Regions from separate parts of the Homo sapiens genome. Here region 2 is linked to region 1. Evidence: promoter capture Hi-C in human tissues and cell types (Jung and others, 2019). All regions are on one chromosome and are shown on one strand. The core of a region is centred on a gene start or on the middle of the fragment in contact, and the rest is flanking DNA. Distances in the headings are between cores, read along the strand shown.

Evidence for each region. The method cuts DNA at HindIII sites, captures the fragments that hold promoters and counts their contacts. A contact is called where the count stands out against the background at its distance.
Region 2: the fragment with the promoter of FSTL3 here is called in contact with the fragment with the promoter of MADCAM1 in region 1 in 1 of the 25 tissues and cell types used here (lymphoblastoid cells).

Annotation. Positions count from the first base shown.
Region 1 is chr19:493,172-499,893 of GRCh38, reverse strand. It overlaps MADCAM1 (mucosal vascular addressin cell adhesion molecule 1), which reads right to left and starts at 3,408. Exons shown (of 5, transcript NM_130760.3): 1 at 3,343-3,408; 2 at 1,777-2,061; 3 at 1,069-1,398. The coding sequence starts at 3,394. MADCAM1-AS1 (MADCAM1 antisense RNA 1) reads left to right here. Exons shown (of 3, transcript XR_936221.4): 3 at 34-125. RefSeq lists a silencer at 4,041-4,090. The HindIII fragment of the contact is 26,139 bases long and covers 1-6,722 here.
Region 2 is chr19:672,733-679,454 of GRCh38, reverse strand. It overlaps FSTL3 (follistatin like 3), which reads right to left and starts at 3,063. Exons shown (of 5, transcript NM_005860.3): 1 at 2,929-3,063; 2 at 1,478-1,663. The coding sequence starts at 3,031. RefSeq lists an enhancer at 207-709. The HindIII fragment of the contact is 14,894 bases long and covers 1-6,722 here.

The sequences.
Region 1 (6,722 bases), core at 2,159-4,658:
GCCCCATGGGAGGACAAATCCCTTTTTCTTTAGTGGGAGAAGCCGGCAGGGGCTTCGGGATTGGACAGAGCGTGAAGGGAGCACCGCCAGGGCACCGGCCCACATTAAATGTCTTCATCCGAGCATTCAGCAAGGGTTTATTGAGCACCTGCTATGCCCCAGGCCCTGTTCTAGCTTCTGTGGACACAGCCGTGCGCGACACAAGATTCCCACCTGGGGAGCCACAGTGGGAGAAGGTCATGGAAAAGAGAATGTACGGGACTGGGGGATGTCAGATGTTATCCAAGGTGTCAAGAAACGAAACAGAAGGGAAAGGGGGCTCACACGCGTGTGCGTGTTTGTACACGCGTGTGCCTGTGTGCCTGTGTTTGTACACGCGTGTGGGTGTGTGCGTTTGTTCCCGTGTGTGCTTGTGTGCCTGTTTGTACACGCGTGTGCGTGTGTGCCTGTGTGCACGCGTGTGTGTGTCTGTGTTTGTACATGTGTGTGCTTGTGTGCCTATGTTTGTACACGTTGGGGATCAGGGGTTGACCCTTTAAACGGGAATCCAGGGAAGCCTCACGGAGGAGGCAACATTCTACAGAGACCTGAGGGGGAGGAGGAGAGAGCCGTGGAAAGATCCGGAAGAAGGGTATTCCCGGCAGAGGGCACAGCCGTGCAAAGGCCCCGGGGCAGGATCACGCCTGGTGTGTTGGAGGAACAGCGAGGAGGCGAGGAGGCCCGTGTGGCTGCAGCAGAATGAGGAGGGGGAGAAAGGGTGGAGGGAGGACAGGAAGGGGACAGGGTAGGTCGTGCAGGTTCCTGTGGGCCCCCGGGAGGACTTGGGCTTTGACCCCAAGGCAAGAGCCATGGAGCGCTGTGGGCAGGGGAGGGGTGGGACCTGTGCTGGGGGGCAGGTGCTCGGCAAATACATGTTGCGTCGATGAATGTCGCTGTCGCTGCGTGGGGGAATCCAGTCCTCCCAGCGCCCCACAGCACAGGTGCTGCCCCCCCACCCCCCCACCCCGTCCCGAAGTGCTTGTCAAGGCTGGCGAGCGGGTGGGTCTCCAGGGCACCCAGCGGACTCACCGGGGATGGCCTGGCGGTGGCTGAGCTCCAAGCCAGGCAGCCTCATCGTGGCCTGGCAGTAGAGGGCGGGCGGGACAGGGGTCCCCAGGGGCGGCAGCCGCCAGCGCTCTGTCACCCTGAACAGCACGTCCTCGTCCCCCTGGGGCTCCTCCTCCTCCTCCTGCACCTCCGGGCCCAGGGCTTGCGCCCCCTCCAGTTCCTGGCCCCCGACGAGCAGGGAGAAGGAGAGCGCGTTGGGGTCCACGGGCGTGACTTTGTGGGCCGTACAGGCCACCTCCGGGTCACCAGGCACCAGGGCTGCTGGGGAGACGGTCAGCTGGTCCGGGAAGGCTGTGATGGAGGGTCGGGGGTGAGGGCTGAGCCCAGAGTCAGGGCTGGACGTGATGGAGGGGCCGGAGCCCGGAGGGGCTTGGAGCTGGGGCCAAGGATGCGTGGGGGCTGCTGATGAACAGGCAGTAGGGACGGCCTGTGCGCAGGCCCCGTGGCCCCACCCTGGGAGGCTGGAATAGACAGGAGGATGGGCCAGGGCCGGCCCTGGGAGAGTTGGGGTGAGTTGGAGGGAAGCGAAGGCCGGGGACCTGGCTTCGGGGAGCTGTGCATGGAGCTGGGACCCTGCCTGCAATCTGGGAGGCTTCCAGGAAGAGGTGGCATAGGGAAGGAGCCGGGAGTCCAAGGGTCAGAGAGGCAGGGCGCGGGGGGACGCCTCACCGTACACAAGGAGCTGCACGGTGTGCTGGAAGGTGCGGCCCCCGCAGGAGCCCACGCACACGCGGGTCCCGGCCGCCGACAGCGAGGCGTTGCGCACGGTGAGGACGCTGCGGCCCGTGTCCGACTGCACCGCGCCCAGGCTGGTGTCCAGGCCCCGCCACTGCACCGAGGCCCCGCGGTCCGCGCAGGCCAGGCGGCAGGTGAGCTGGCGCGAGGCGCCCAAGGCCACGGCCACCACCGGCTCCGGGGGCTCCACCTGCAGGGGCTTCACCTGGAGGGACTGGCCTGCGGCGACCGCGGCTCTCGCTCAGCCCCGCGGAGTCCCGGACCCCGCCCCGCCACCGGCCCTGCGTCCCGCTCCACCCCCGGACCCCGCCCCGCCTCTGCCCGGTTCCCGGACCCTCCGCTGCACCCCCGGACCCCTGCCCCGCCGCTACCCGGACTCCCAGGCTCGGTCCCTGAACCCCGCCCCGACCGCCGCCTCTGCCCCAGTCCCCCGAACCCCAGCTGCCTGGAGCCAGTTTCGCTGCGGGTCAGGGGGCCGCGCGGAGCCCCGCAACTTCCCCTCTCAGCCCCTGCCTCCTCCGAGCCCCCTCCTCTGGCAGGATCACCAATCACCCCCTATCTCGGAGCCCCTTAACTCTGAGCACCCCTCGTCTCTCCCGCGCCCCCTCCGAGCCCCTCCTCTCTCCTGCGCCCCCTCTTAACTCCCTCCTCTCTCCCGCGTCCCCTCCCCGCTCACCGCGCCCCTTCCTCTCCCCCGGGCCCCCTCCCCTCTCCCGGGCCCCCCTTCTCTTCCGAACCCCCTCCCCTCTCCCGAGCCCCCTCCCCTCTCCCGAGCCCCCCTTCTCTTCCAAACCCCCTCCCCTCTCCCGCGCCCCCTCCTCTCTCCTGAGTCCTCTTCACTTTACTGCGCCCCCTGCTCTCTCCTGCGCCCCCTCCCCTCCGCGCCCCTCCTCTCTCCTGCGCCCCTTCTCTCTCCTGAGCCCCTTCTCTCTCCTGAGCCCCCTCCACTCTCCTGCGCCCCCTCCTCTCCCCTGCGCCCCTCCTCTCTCCTGCGTCCCTCCTCTCTCCTGAGCCCCCCCACTCTACTGAGCCCCCTCCCCTCTCCTGAGCCCCCTCCTAACTCCCTCCTCTCTCCCGCGTCCCCTCCCCGCTCACCGCGCCCCTTCCTCTCCCCCGAGCCCCCTCCCCTCTCCCGCGCCCCCTCCTCTCTCCCGCGCCCCCTCCACTCTCCTGCGCCCCCTCCTCTCTCCTGCGCCCCCTCCCCTCCGCGCCCCCTCCTCTCTCCCGCGCCCCCTCCTCTCTCCTGCGCCCCTCCTCTCTCCTGAGCCCCCTCCACTCTCCTGAGCCCCCTCCTCTCTCCTGCGCCCCTCCTCTCTCCTGCGTCCCTCCTCTCTCCTGAGCCCCCCCACTCTACTGAGCCCCCTCCCCTCTCCTGGGCCCCCTCCTCTCTCCCGGGCCCTCTCCTCTCTCCTGAGCCCCCTCCCCTCTCCTGAGCCCCCTCCTCTCTCCTGAGCCCCCTCCTAACTCACTCCTCTCTCCCGCGCCCCCTCCCCTTCTCACCGAGGAGGAGCCCCAGAAGCCCCGCCAGCAGGAGGGCCAGTCCGAAATCCATGCTCAGTCCCCTCTGTCCCGAGGCCGCGGGGAAGCCGCTTAAATAGAGGCGCCCACTCCTTCCCGCCGCCCGGCGACCCCGCTCCAGCTGCTCCCCGGGGGCTTCCCAAGGGGCTTTCCTGGCCTGACCCCCGACCCTGGAGGCGGCAGAGAGGCAGGGGCTGGGGGCCAAAGATGGGGCGGGGTCCCGGGGCCACTCAGGACGGGCAGGCAGGAAGGTCTGGGTCTGTTCCAAGCCTCATATTCAGGCACGGGAAGATCGCAGACGGAGGCCGGAGGGTCGAGGTCAAGTGCATGGAAGTGGGACAGAGGCTGGGCAGCGCCGCCCCCACCCCGACGGCGGGTCCCCTGCACTTTCTTTTCTTTTTTTTCTGAGTTTCGCTCTTGTTGCCCAGGCTGGAGTGCAATGGTGCGATCTCAGCTCACCGCAACCTCTGTCTCCCGGGCTCAAGCGATTCTCCTGCCTCAGCCACTCCAGTAGCTGGGATTACAGGCATGCGTCACCACGCCTGGCTAATTTTGTATCTTTAGTAGAGACAGGGTTTCTCCATGTTGGGCAGGCTGGCCTCGAACTCCCGACCTCAGGTGATCCGCCCACCTCGGCCTCCCAAAGTGCTGAGATCACAGGCGTGAGCCACCGCGCCCGGCCCGCCTGCACTTTCCCGGGCGGCCGCACAGGGGCGGTGGAGAGCAGCCCTCCCCCGTTCCGGAGCTGCAGGCCGGGTCTTGTTGGCTGGGGTCCCCTGGGGGTCAGGTGAAGGTCGCTGGGGATGGAGGCCCCCTGGACTGAAGTCTCCTGGCCGTGGTGGAGCTGTGAGACCCTCCAGGACGTGGGACAAGTCACCCCATCTCTGAGCCTGGCTTCCTTCCATCACACGGGCAGAGGCCGCCCACCTAGCAGGCCTGGCTGGAGCCTGGGAGCCCGAGTAGGGGCTGCCTCTGTTCCTTGGTCTACACTGAGACCTGGATCTCGGTCCACAAGAGGGATCTGGAAGGGATGCTGGCTGGACTCCCACTCACAGCTGCCATCAGCGAGTCCTGGGAACCTCATCTTCCAAACGCACTGGAATCCACCCACCTGTTCCTCCAAGCCCCGCACACTGGTTCTGTCTCCGCTGGTGGCTTGTTTACCCCCCTGCATCACCGGGACCCTCCCAGGGCCTCTGGGACTCTGCCCGGGCTGCTCCTCACCTTACCCAGGTTCTGCCCACCCCCTCACCCCCTCGCCCCCCACCCTCCTCCGCTGTGGTTCCCAGGGTGCTCTGCTCCTAGCTCAATGAGGGCCTGTGGTGGCAGTCGTGATGGCTGGCTCCCCTCCACCCAGGGGCCGGTCCTGTGACCCTGGACCCCATGCACCGCAGGCACGCGGGAATAAAATGATGGAGCATTCCTGCTGACCTCAGGGTCTGTCTGTGCCTCAGTTTCCCTGGCCATGGAATAAAAAGCAGCAGCCAGTCCATGGGGTTCCAAGCATTGCCAATCGGCTTACCTGTCAGAGGAGGGAAACTGAGGCCCAGGGGCAGGGCTGGGACCAGAGGAGGGAAACTGAGGCCCAGGGGCGGGGCTGGGACCAGAGGAGGAAAACTGAGGCCCAGAGGAGGGGCTGGGATCAGAGGAGGGAAACTGAGGCCCAGGGGCGGGGCTGGGACCAGAGGAGGGAAACTGAGGCCCAGAGGAGGGGCTGGGATCAGAGGAGGGAAACTGAGGCCCAGGGGTGGGGCTGGGACCAGAGGAGGGAAACTGAGATCCAGGGCAGGGCCTGGGTGCAAAGGAGGGAAACTGAGGCCTAGGGGAGGGGCTGGGTGCAGAGGAGGCAAAATGAGGCTCGGGGGAGGGGCTGGGTGCTGAGGAGGGAAACTGAGGCCTAGAGGAGGGGCTGGGTGCAAAGGAGAGAAACTGAGGCCTAGAGGAGGGAAACTGAGGCCCGGGGTGGGGAAACAGTCCCCTCAGAGGTGAGGGCCCAGGTGTGTGAGCTCACAGCCCTGTCTCCCTGGGTCCCATCCCCCTCCTGCCCAGGCTGGTGCCGGGAAAGGCCTCACCGGAAAGCAGACTCCGAGGAGGGGCCCTCCCCAGGCCGGAGGTGCAGGCCCTTCCCGGGAAGCTGGGCCCTTAACCCGGGCGGGGGGCAGCAGGCCTGGTGAATGGGCTGTTTCCCAGCCCCCGACCCTACTTCCTGCAGGTGGGGAGGGACCACTGGGCGCCAGGAGGGCTGAGGCCCCTTGCAGGGTGTGTCCCAGCTCTCCAGGGCCCTGTCCCCCGCCCGCCCGCTGGGTCACGCGTGGTGATCACGCTGCTCACAGTCCCCGTGTGCCGAGCCCTCACATCCACAGGCTTGTGGGGGCGGGGAGACAACAAAGCTGGGGTCCCCCTGAGGACAGGGCAGGTGGGATGGACACAGGAAGGAGGAGGGAGGGTTCCCAGAGGCAGAGGGACCCGCAGGTTTCAACGGCCAGAGGTGGGGAAGGCGGGGGTGAGGGAGACACAGAGACAGAGAGAGAGAGACAGAGACACAGAGAGACAGAGACAGAGTGAGGAAGAGAGACATAGGGAGACAGAGACACAGAGAGGGAGAGACAGATCAAGGAAGAGAGACAAGGCAGAGAGACACAGGGAGATAGAGACACAGAGAGACAGAGACAGAGCGAGGAAGAGAGAAGGCAGAGAGACACAGGGAGACAGAGACAGAGACACAGAGAGGCAGAGGCAGAGGGATGGAGAGACCGAGGTGGGCCAGCAGCCTGAGGGCCGGGGAGGACCCTGAGACCCCTGGGTCTGAGTCCTAGTCCCACAGGAAGGCCTACACCGTATCTTCCGCCGGCAACGGGGACCTCCTTTTTGTCCTTGGGAGACTCGACCCCGCCCCCAACATCAATCCCCTTCCCGGCATTGTCCTCGGCGGCCTCCGTCAGGAAGCCCCCTTCCCATGGAGGGTCCCAGCCAGGAAGCCCCCCTTCCCATGGAGGGTCCCAGCCATCCCACCAGCCCCAGACCCCACATCCTGGCCTCCCTGTCCACAGCTGCCGAGGGAGCGTTCCAGATGACTGTGTTGCCCTGAGGGGAAGGGGCTGTGAGGGCGCCGTTGTCCAGGAGCGGAGCACGCCCCAGGCCCTGACAGACCCTTCTTGACCCAGCTGGGCCAGCTCTCCTGTCTCCCACCCACTGGTCAGTTCTGGGGTCCTCATGGCTTTTTCTTTGGAGTGAGGACCCCCATCACGGCAGGGCCTCCTTGTTGGACAAGGCTTGAACCCAGTCCAAGGACCCCAGACCTGAGGGTCGCAAGGAGAGTGGGGGAGGAATGAGATTGATGGAGGCTGCAGGAGGGGGTTCAA
Region 2 (6,722 bases), core at 1,814-4,313, 180 kb before region 1:
TCTGAACACAGCTGTTGAGTTTATGTGCCAGCCTCAGTTTCTCTGTGTGTAAAGTGGGGCTGACGAGGGAGCCCCACTTCCAAGGCAGTGCGGCACTCCTTAGGGGATGGCCAGCGCCCGCCACGCAGCCCTTGCAGGGCATGTGGGCCGCACCTGGGCGGCCCCGGCACAGCGGCTCACAGGCACATCTGGAAATGCTCGGCCAGGGTGGCTTTTATGCGAGCGAGAACGGAAGGGGGCCTGAGTTCCGTCCCCAGGGCCAGATGAGGTTGGGGGTGGGGGGTCCTGGGCCGTCTCATGCCCAGGCCAGGCACTTTTTGAAGACTGTCCTTCTCCCAGAAGCCAGAGGGGGGTCTGGAGGGAGCAGGGGTATGTGGCAGTGAGTTCAGGACCACCCAGCCAGGCTGATCTGGGATTAATCACATCTCAGAGGCCAGCAGAGTTCCTCAGCCTGGCCTTCGGGTCTGCAGCCCTCAGCTTCAGCCTCCCCTTGGCTCCTCTGCCTGACCCCACCCACCAGGACCTAACCTCAAGCCATGTTCTCTCCTGATCCACTCTCCCATACCGGCCCCATCTGGCAAACTCCTAGACATCCCCCAACACCCCAGCTCTAATGCCCACCTCCTTCAAGATGTGCCCCAACAGGCCAGGCATGGTGGCTCACGCCTGTAATCCCAGCACTTTGGGAGGCCAAGGCTGGCAGATCACTTGAGGTCAGGAGTTTGAGACCAGCCTGGCCAATGTGGTGAAACCCTGTCTCTACCAAAAACATAAAAATTAGCCAGGTGTGGTGGCGCGCGCCTGCAGTCCCAGCCCCTGGGGAGGCCGAGGAAAGAGAATCACCTGAACCTCGGAGGCCGAAGTTGCAGTGAGCCAAAATCGCACCACTGCACTCCAGCCTGGGTGACAGAGCGAGGCTCCATCTCAGGAAAAAAAAAAAAAAAAAAAAAAAAAACCATCATCCTCCAGTGCGGAGAATCTTATTCATTCGTTCTGTGCCACTCGCCAACCAAGAGCCCCTAGTCTGATGTGGGAGGCATCCTCTCAAAACAGGGTCCCGAGGCAAATGCTTGTTAAACATGCAGCTGTAACCCCACCGCAGACCCTGGAGTCTGCAGTGAAGGTCCCTGGTGTGGACATTTGGGGTCACAGGCCAGAATGGCAAACCCACCTTCCCAGGAGCTAGGTGCAAGCCAGACATTTATCGACCAGGTGGGAAGAGCCACCCAGGCAGAGAGCTCAGCCCCAGCAAAGGCTGGAGCCACGTGGTCTCTTCCTGAGTCCTGAGCTGCAAGAGGCTGGAGCCTGGGAACCGGGAAGTCCCCCCAGTCCCTCTCTGAGGCTGGGATCCCCCTGCAGCCTCCTACATACCCCTGTGACGGGCTCAGTCCCTGGACGTTCGGCCCTCGACCACCATGACTGTTTGTGGCTGGTCCTGAGCTGAGACGTCTGCCCTGCTTCTGGCCTGAGGTCTCACCTTTGCAGGGAAGGCAGTGGACAAGGCCCAAGAAGCCGAGGAGGTTGATCTTGTTCCCCGGGTGGGTGAGGTTGGACCAGGCGGTGTCAATGTTGCCGGAGGCACAGCACTCGGCCCGGGTGACATCAGTCTGGAGCACCAGGCTGCAGGTGGCCTCCTGGCCCTGCTGGAGCCAGCAAACACCACCTGCGGGCCGGGGAACGGGGTGCTCTCCTGGGCCACTCCTGACACCCAGCTTCTGGCCCGCCCACAGATGCATGCAGGTGGTGCTGAGTAGTTACGCACGGAATGATCTACCCCCACCCAGGAAGAAGGGGCAGAAAACCACATGGGTGTCCCCACCCTGGCTCCAGAACCCTGGAAATGTCTCCTCCCCTCTGAGCTCCACGTGCCCCCCCCCACAGCCTCACCACCAACCCCCACCCACCCCAGGAGGTCCCTTCCCGTACCCTCCAAGCCCCCAGGCCAGGGGCTGGCACCCTGCCCAACCCCTCAAACACCACCAAACACCAGGCACTGGGCATGTCAGGGTCAGCAGGCCCTGGAGCCGCTTCTCCCGCCTCTGCCCTCTGTCTAGACAGCACCCGAGGGCGAGGGCACGCGGAGCCCCGCGCCTGGCAGCCCCCCCACCGCCTGGCCCGCCTCTTACTCACTCCAACTTGGGAACATTCCCCTTGCATGAGCTCACTGTCTCCCCAGGGACGTGGCCTTCGGGGAGGGGGCTCTGCTCTCCCTTTGGCGCAGGGCTGGGGTGGGGTGGGGCTGCAGGGATGGGGGGTGGGGAGCCAGAGAGCCCCCCATTTCTTCCCCCGTCCCTGGGGGCAGGAACGGCCACAGCCCCCATCCCAGAGCGCTTGCTGGTTCACAGACACTGCCAGGGACCAGCTTGTGGAACGCAGCACCTTGGCACCCATCATAGGAGGGGAAACTGAGGCCAGGAGTGGGGCCGTCTCCTGCCTGGCACCTCCCGGCAAGTCCCAGGTGTGAGACTCCATGCCCCGTCTACCCAGGACCCGGGAAAGCTCTCAGCCCCAGCTGGAGGGCCTGGCTCCCGACACCCAGCACTACCTCTCGGCACCAGGACCGACCCGGACGGTCGCGGCTAGAACCCTGGCTTTGCCTGCTACAGGCTGTGTGACCCTGAGCCTCAGTTTCCCCATCTGGAAGACGGAGATGAAGAGAGCTCCGGCACTATCGGGATGGCACAGGTTCAGGGAGGGGAGAGGTAGACACTAAGCGCTCAATAAATGTCAGCGGTCATTGTGATTAGAAACCTCTGCTCTGCTGACCTCTTGGTGACCCTCCTTCAGACCTTCCCGGCTCCAGCTTGCGCCGGACACCGCCCTCGCCCCCGCCGCCGCCGCCGCGCCCCCCGACGTCCCCCCGGCCGCATTCCGCGCAGCCCCACGTGGGTGGCCCGCCCCGCCCGCCCCTCTGGCCGCCCCACTCACCGGGCGCGGGGTTCCCCGAGCCCATGGAGCTCACGAAGCCCACGGCCCAAGCCAGGGCCCCCCAGGGCAGAGGCCAGAGTGGCCCTGGCGCCCCGGGACGCATGGCGAACGCAGAGACGGCAGCGGCACCGACTTCCCAGCGCGCGGCCGGCGCTCCCTATAAAGGTCCCGCGGGCCGCGGGCGGGGCGGGGCGCGGGGCGGGGCGCGGCGCGGGAGTGGCGGGGGCGAGGCCGTGTCCCGCGCGGGGTGGGCAGGCGCCGGGCCCGGCCGCTGCGGGGGGCAGTTGGGGGCGAGCGCCCGGGTCCCCTTCCGGAGCCAGAGAATGCATTTGGGGAGATGTGGCTGGACCCAGGGCGGAACCGGGACAGGGGTGTGGGTTCGAGGTGGTGGCAGCCTTTTGGGTGGATCGAGGGGCCGTCTCCAGGAATTAAAGTGGGTTTGGGGGTCTTCAGTTTCAGGGGTGGCGGTGAGGTAACGGGGACCCAAGAGGAGCACGTCTGTGGATCCCTGCATCCCGTTTCTGTGATTTGCATGTGGTCACTTTCATGGTCCAAGTGTGGTCTGAGCCCCCCAACCCGGCCTCCTTGTTCCCGACCCGCCCCACACACCCAAAACCTCAGCTGGATATGGTTCCCTGCTCACAGCGCGGGCCGCGCACCCGTCCACCTGGCCGCTGGAGCCGGCCTGTGGGTGGGGAGTGGTTGGGTGTGGGACAGAACGGGGTGCGGCCGGGACAGACCCAGAGACACAGCTCCTTCCAGCATCTCGGACAACAGCAGGCCTCGCCCAGCCACGGCCCCCAGGGAGGCCACTGCGTGTGTGTGTGTGTGTGTGTGTGTGTGTGCGCGCGCACGCCTGGCCTTTGTCCTGGGCCCCTGGGCAGCTCTGCCCCATCAGCCCTCCAAGCCTTTGCAGACATTCCCCCAGATCACCTCAACAAGAATGTTTACTAGGTTTTTTCCTCTCCCTCCAAGATTCAGCAAACACTGTTTCCAGCAGAGGCGTTTCCAACAATGTATGACAGCGACATCTGCGTGGGCCTGGAGGCGCTGCGCCCGAGGGGGCTTTCGTGCAGCCAGACACATTTCCTACTCTGGAGCTGATTCTGTCATGGGGGCCTCCAGATTTGTCAGGCGCCCTTGGCGAGCGCAGGGGAGCCCCTCTGTTCCTGCTTCTAGGGCATCAGTGAACATCTCTTTTGGCCAGAGGGACCCTGCGGGGTGCTGGGGTGCCACGGTGACCAAGGCAGACCCCATCACACCCTCACCGAGCTCCTGGTTTGGACAACAAAATGCAGAGACAAATTAATCTATAACTTCAAGGAGTGGTAAATGCTTTCAGGAAAATACAGAAGGTTGAGGTGGTGGAGAGCGGTTGGGTGTCTGCTGGGCATGCCTGTGTCTGGCCACTCGCTGTGCCGGCATTGCCCACCCCGCAGGTGGAAACGGACGTGTCCAGCAGCCCCACGGCACAGCCCCTTCTCTGGCCTGAGTGAGATCTGTGCCCACAGAAGACACACCTGTACCCTTTCCTCCACCTTAGCTGCCCAGCCTGTGTCCCCCAGCAGCCAGTGGCCAGGGGCCAAGTTCTGCCTTAGTGGCACTGAGGGGGGACACCCCGCCGTCTTGACCTGGCCTTGGCCTCTGGCATTTCCCCCGGGAATCTCCCCGGCTTGGGGAGCAGGGCAGGGACGGGACCCTGTATTCTCACTGAGGGGGGACACCCCGCCGTCTCGACCTGGCCTTGGCCTCTGGCATTTCCCCCGGGAATCTCCCCGGCTTGGGGAGCAGGGCAGGGACGGGACCCTGTGTTCTCACTGAGGGGGGACACCCCGCCGTCTCGACCTGGCCTTGGCCTCTGGCATTTCCCCCGGGAATCTCCCCGGCTTGGGGAGTGGGGCAGGCACAGGACCCTGTGTTCTCACTGACGGGGGACACCCCGCCGTCTCGACCTGGCCTTGGCCTCTGGCATTCCCCCGGGACTCTCCCGGGATTGGGGAGTGGGGCAGGGATGGGACCCTGTGTTCTCACTGAGGATGTGCGGGGGCTGGACAGTGTGACCTTGGCCAAGACCTGACCCCGCCGTGGCTTGGCCACTCCGGCCTGGGCTGTGCGAATCAAAGGGTCATTGTCTGGCTGGCGTGGGTTCCGGCCCTCTCCGGGGAAACCGAGGCCAGCTGCCAGTGGCCTCCTGCTCCCGGCTCTGTCTTCCCTAACCCAGAGGCTCTGTGCAGGGTGACCTCTAACAGGTCACTGACCCTTTCCAGAGCGCCGCCTCCTCCTGAGACCCCAGTGATGACCTCCCCTCTCCCGGCTCTGCCCCTCTCCCCACCCTATCCAGGCCCGAGGCTCATCCTAGGACTTCCAGCCCGCAGCCTGGCCCCTGCGGCCCACTTCCTACCCCAGCTGCCATAACACTTCTCCCTGGCTCAGACACCCACCGTGGCTCCTCGTGGCCTCTGCTCACCCCCCAGGCTTCTGTCTCCCTCCAGGTACATCCTGACAGGTAAACAGACAGTGACAATCCAGTGTTGTTCTGTGGCGGAGGATGCCCAGATGGCAAAGGTGCCCCAGGCCTGACCCGGGCCTGGGGGAGACTGAGGAAGGCTTCCCAGAGGAAAGAGACGTTGAGGTTGAGACTCGAACGTCAGACGGAGCGGCAGGGGTGTGCGCTGGAAACAGACGCTTGTGCTGTGAGTGAGGGGGAGAGCAGTGGGGGGTGGTCAGCAGAACGGCGGTCCCAGAGACCATGGGGCCCTCATCCCTAGAACCCGTGGGTGTCCCACCCTCCCTGGCCAAAGGGGCTCTGCAGATGGGACTGAGTTGAGGGCTTTCACACAGGGGTTCATCCTGGGTTATACGGATGGCCCACTGTCCTGGAAGGGTCCGTAGAAGAGGAGATGCCTGGCCGGGCGCGGTGGTTCACACCTGTGAACCACCAACACATTAGGTTCACACCTGTGAACCTCCAACACATTAGGAGGCCGAGGCAGGCAGATCACTTGAGGTCAGGAGTTCGAGACTAGCCTGGCCAACATGGTAAAACCCTGTCTCTACTAAAAATACAAAAAAATTAGGTGGGCCTGGTGGTGTGCGCCTGTAATCCCAGCACTTTGGGAGGCCGAGGCAGGAGGATCACTTGAAGTCAGGAGTTCGAGACTAGCCTGGCCAACATGGTAAAACCCCGTCTCTACTAAAAATACAAAAAAATTAGGTGGGCCTGGTATTGTGCACCTGTAATCCCAGCTACTTGGGAGGCTGAGGCAGGAGAATCACTTGAACCTGGGAGGCAGAGGTTGAAGTGACCCGAGATCGTGCCACTGCACTGCAGCCTGGGTGACAGAGCGAGACTCTGTCTCAAAAAAAAAAAAAAAAAAAAGGAGACGCCTGCCCTCTATGGTTAGAGACAGGATAAGAGAAGGACTTGGCTGCCATTGCGGGATTTGGAGATGGAGGAAGGGGGCTCAAGCCAGGGAATGTGGGCGGCCTCTAGGAGCCTGGAAAGGCGCGGAACAGATTCTCTCCTGGAGCTGCCAGAAGGAATGCAGCTCTGCCAACACCTCGATCTTCTCCCAGCCAGACCCGTGTGGAACTTTTTTTTTTTTTTTTTTGAGACGTAGTCTCGTTCTGTTGCTTAGGCTGGAGTGCAATGGCGCGATCTCGGCTCACTGCAACCTCCGCCCCCGGGTTCAAGCAATCCTTCTGCGTCAGCCTCACGAGTAGCTGGGATTGTAGGCACCTGCCACCACAACTGGCTAATTTTTGTATTCTTAGTAGAGACGCGGTTTCGCCAT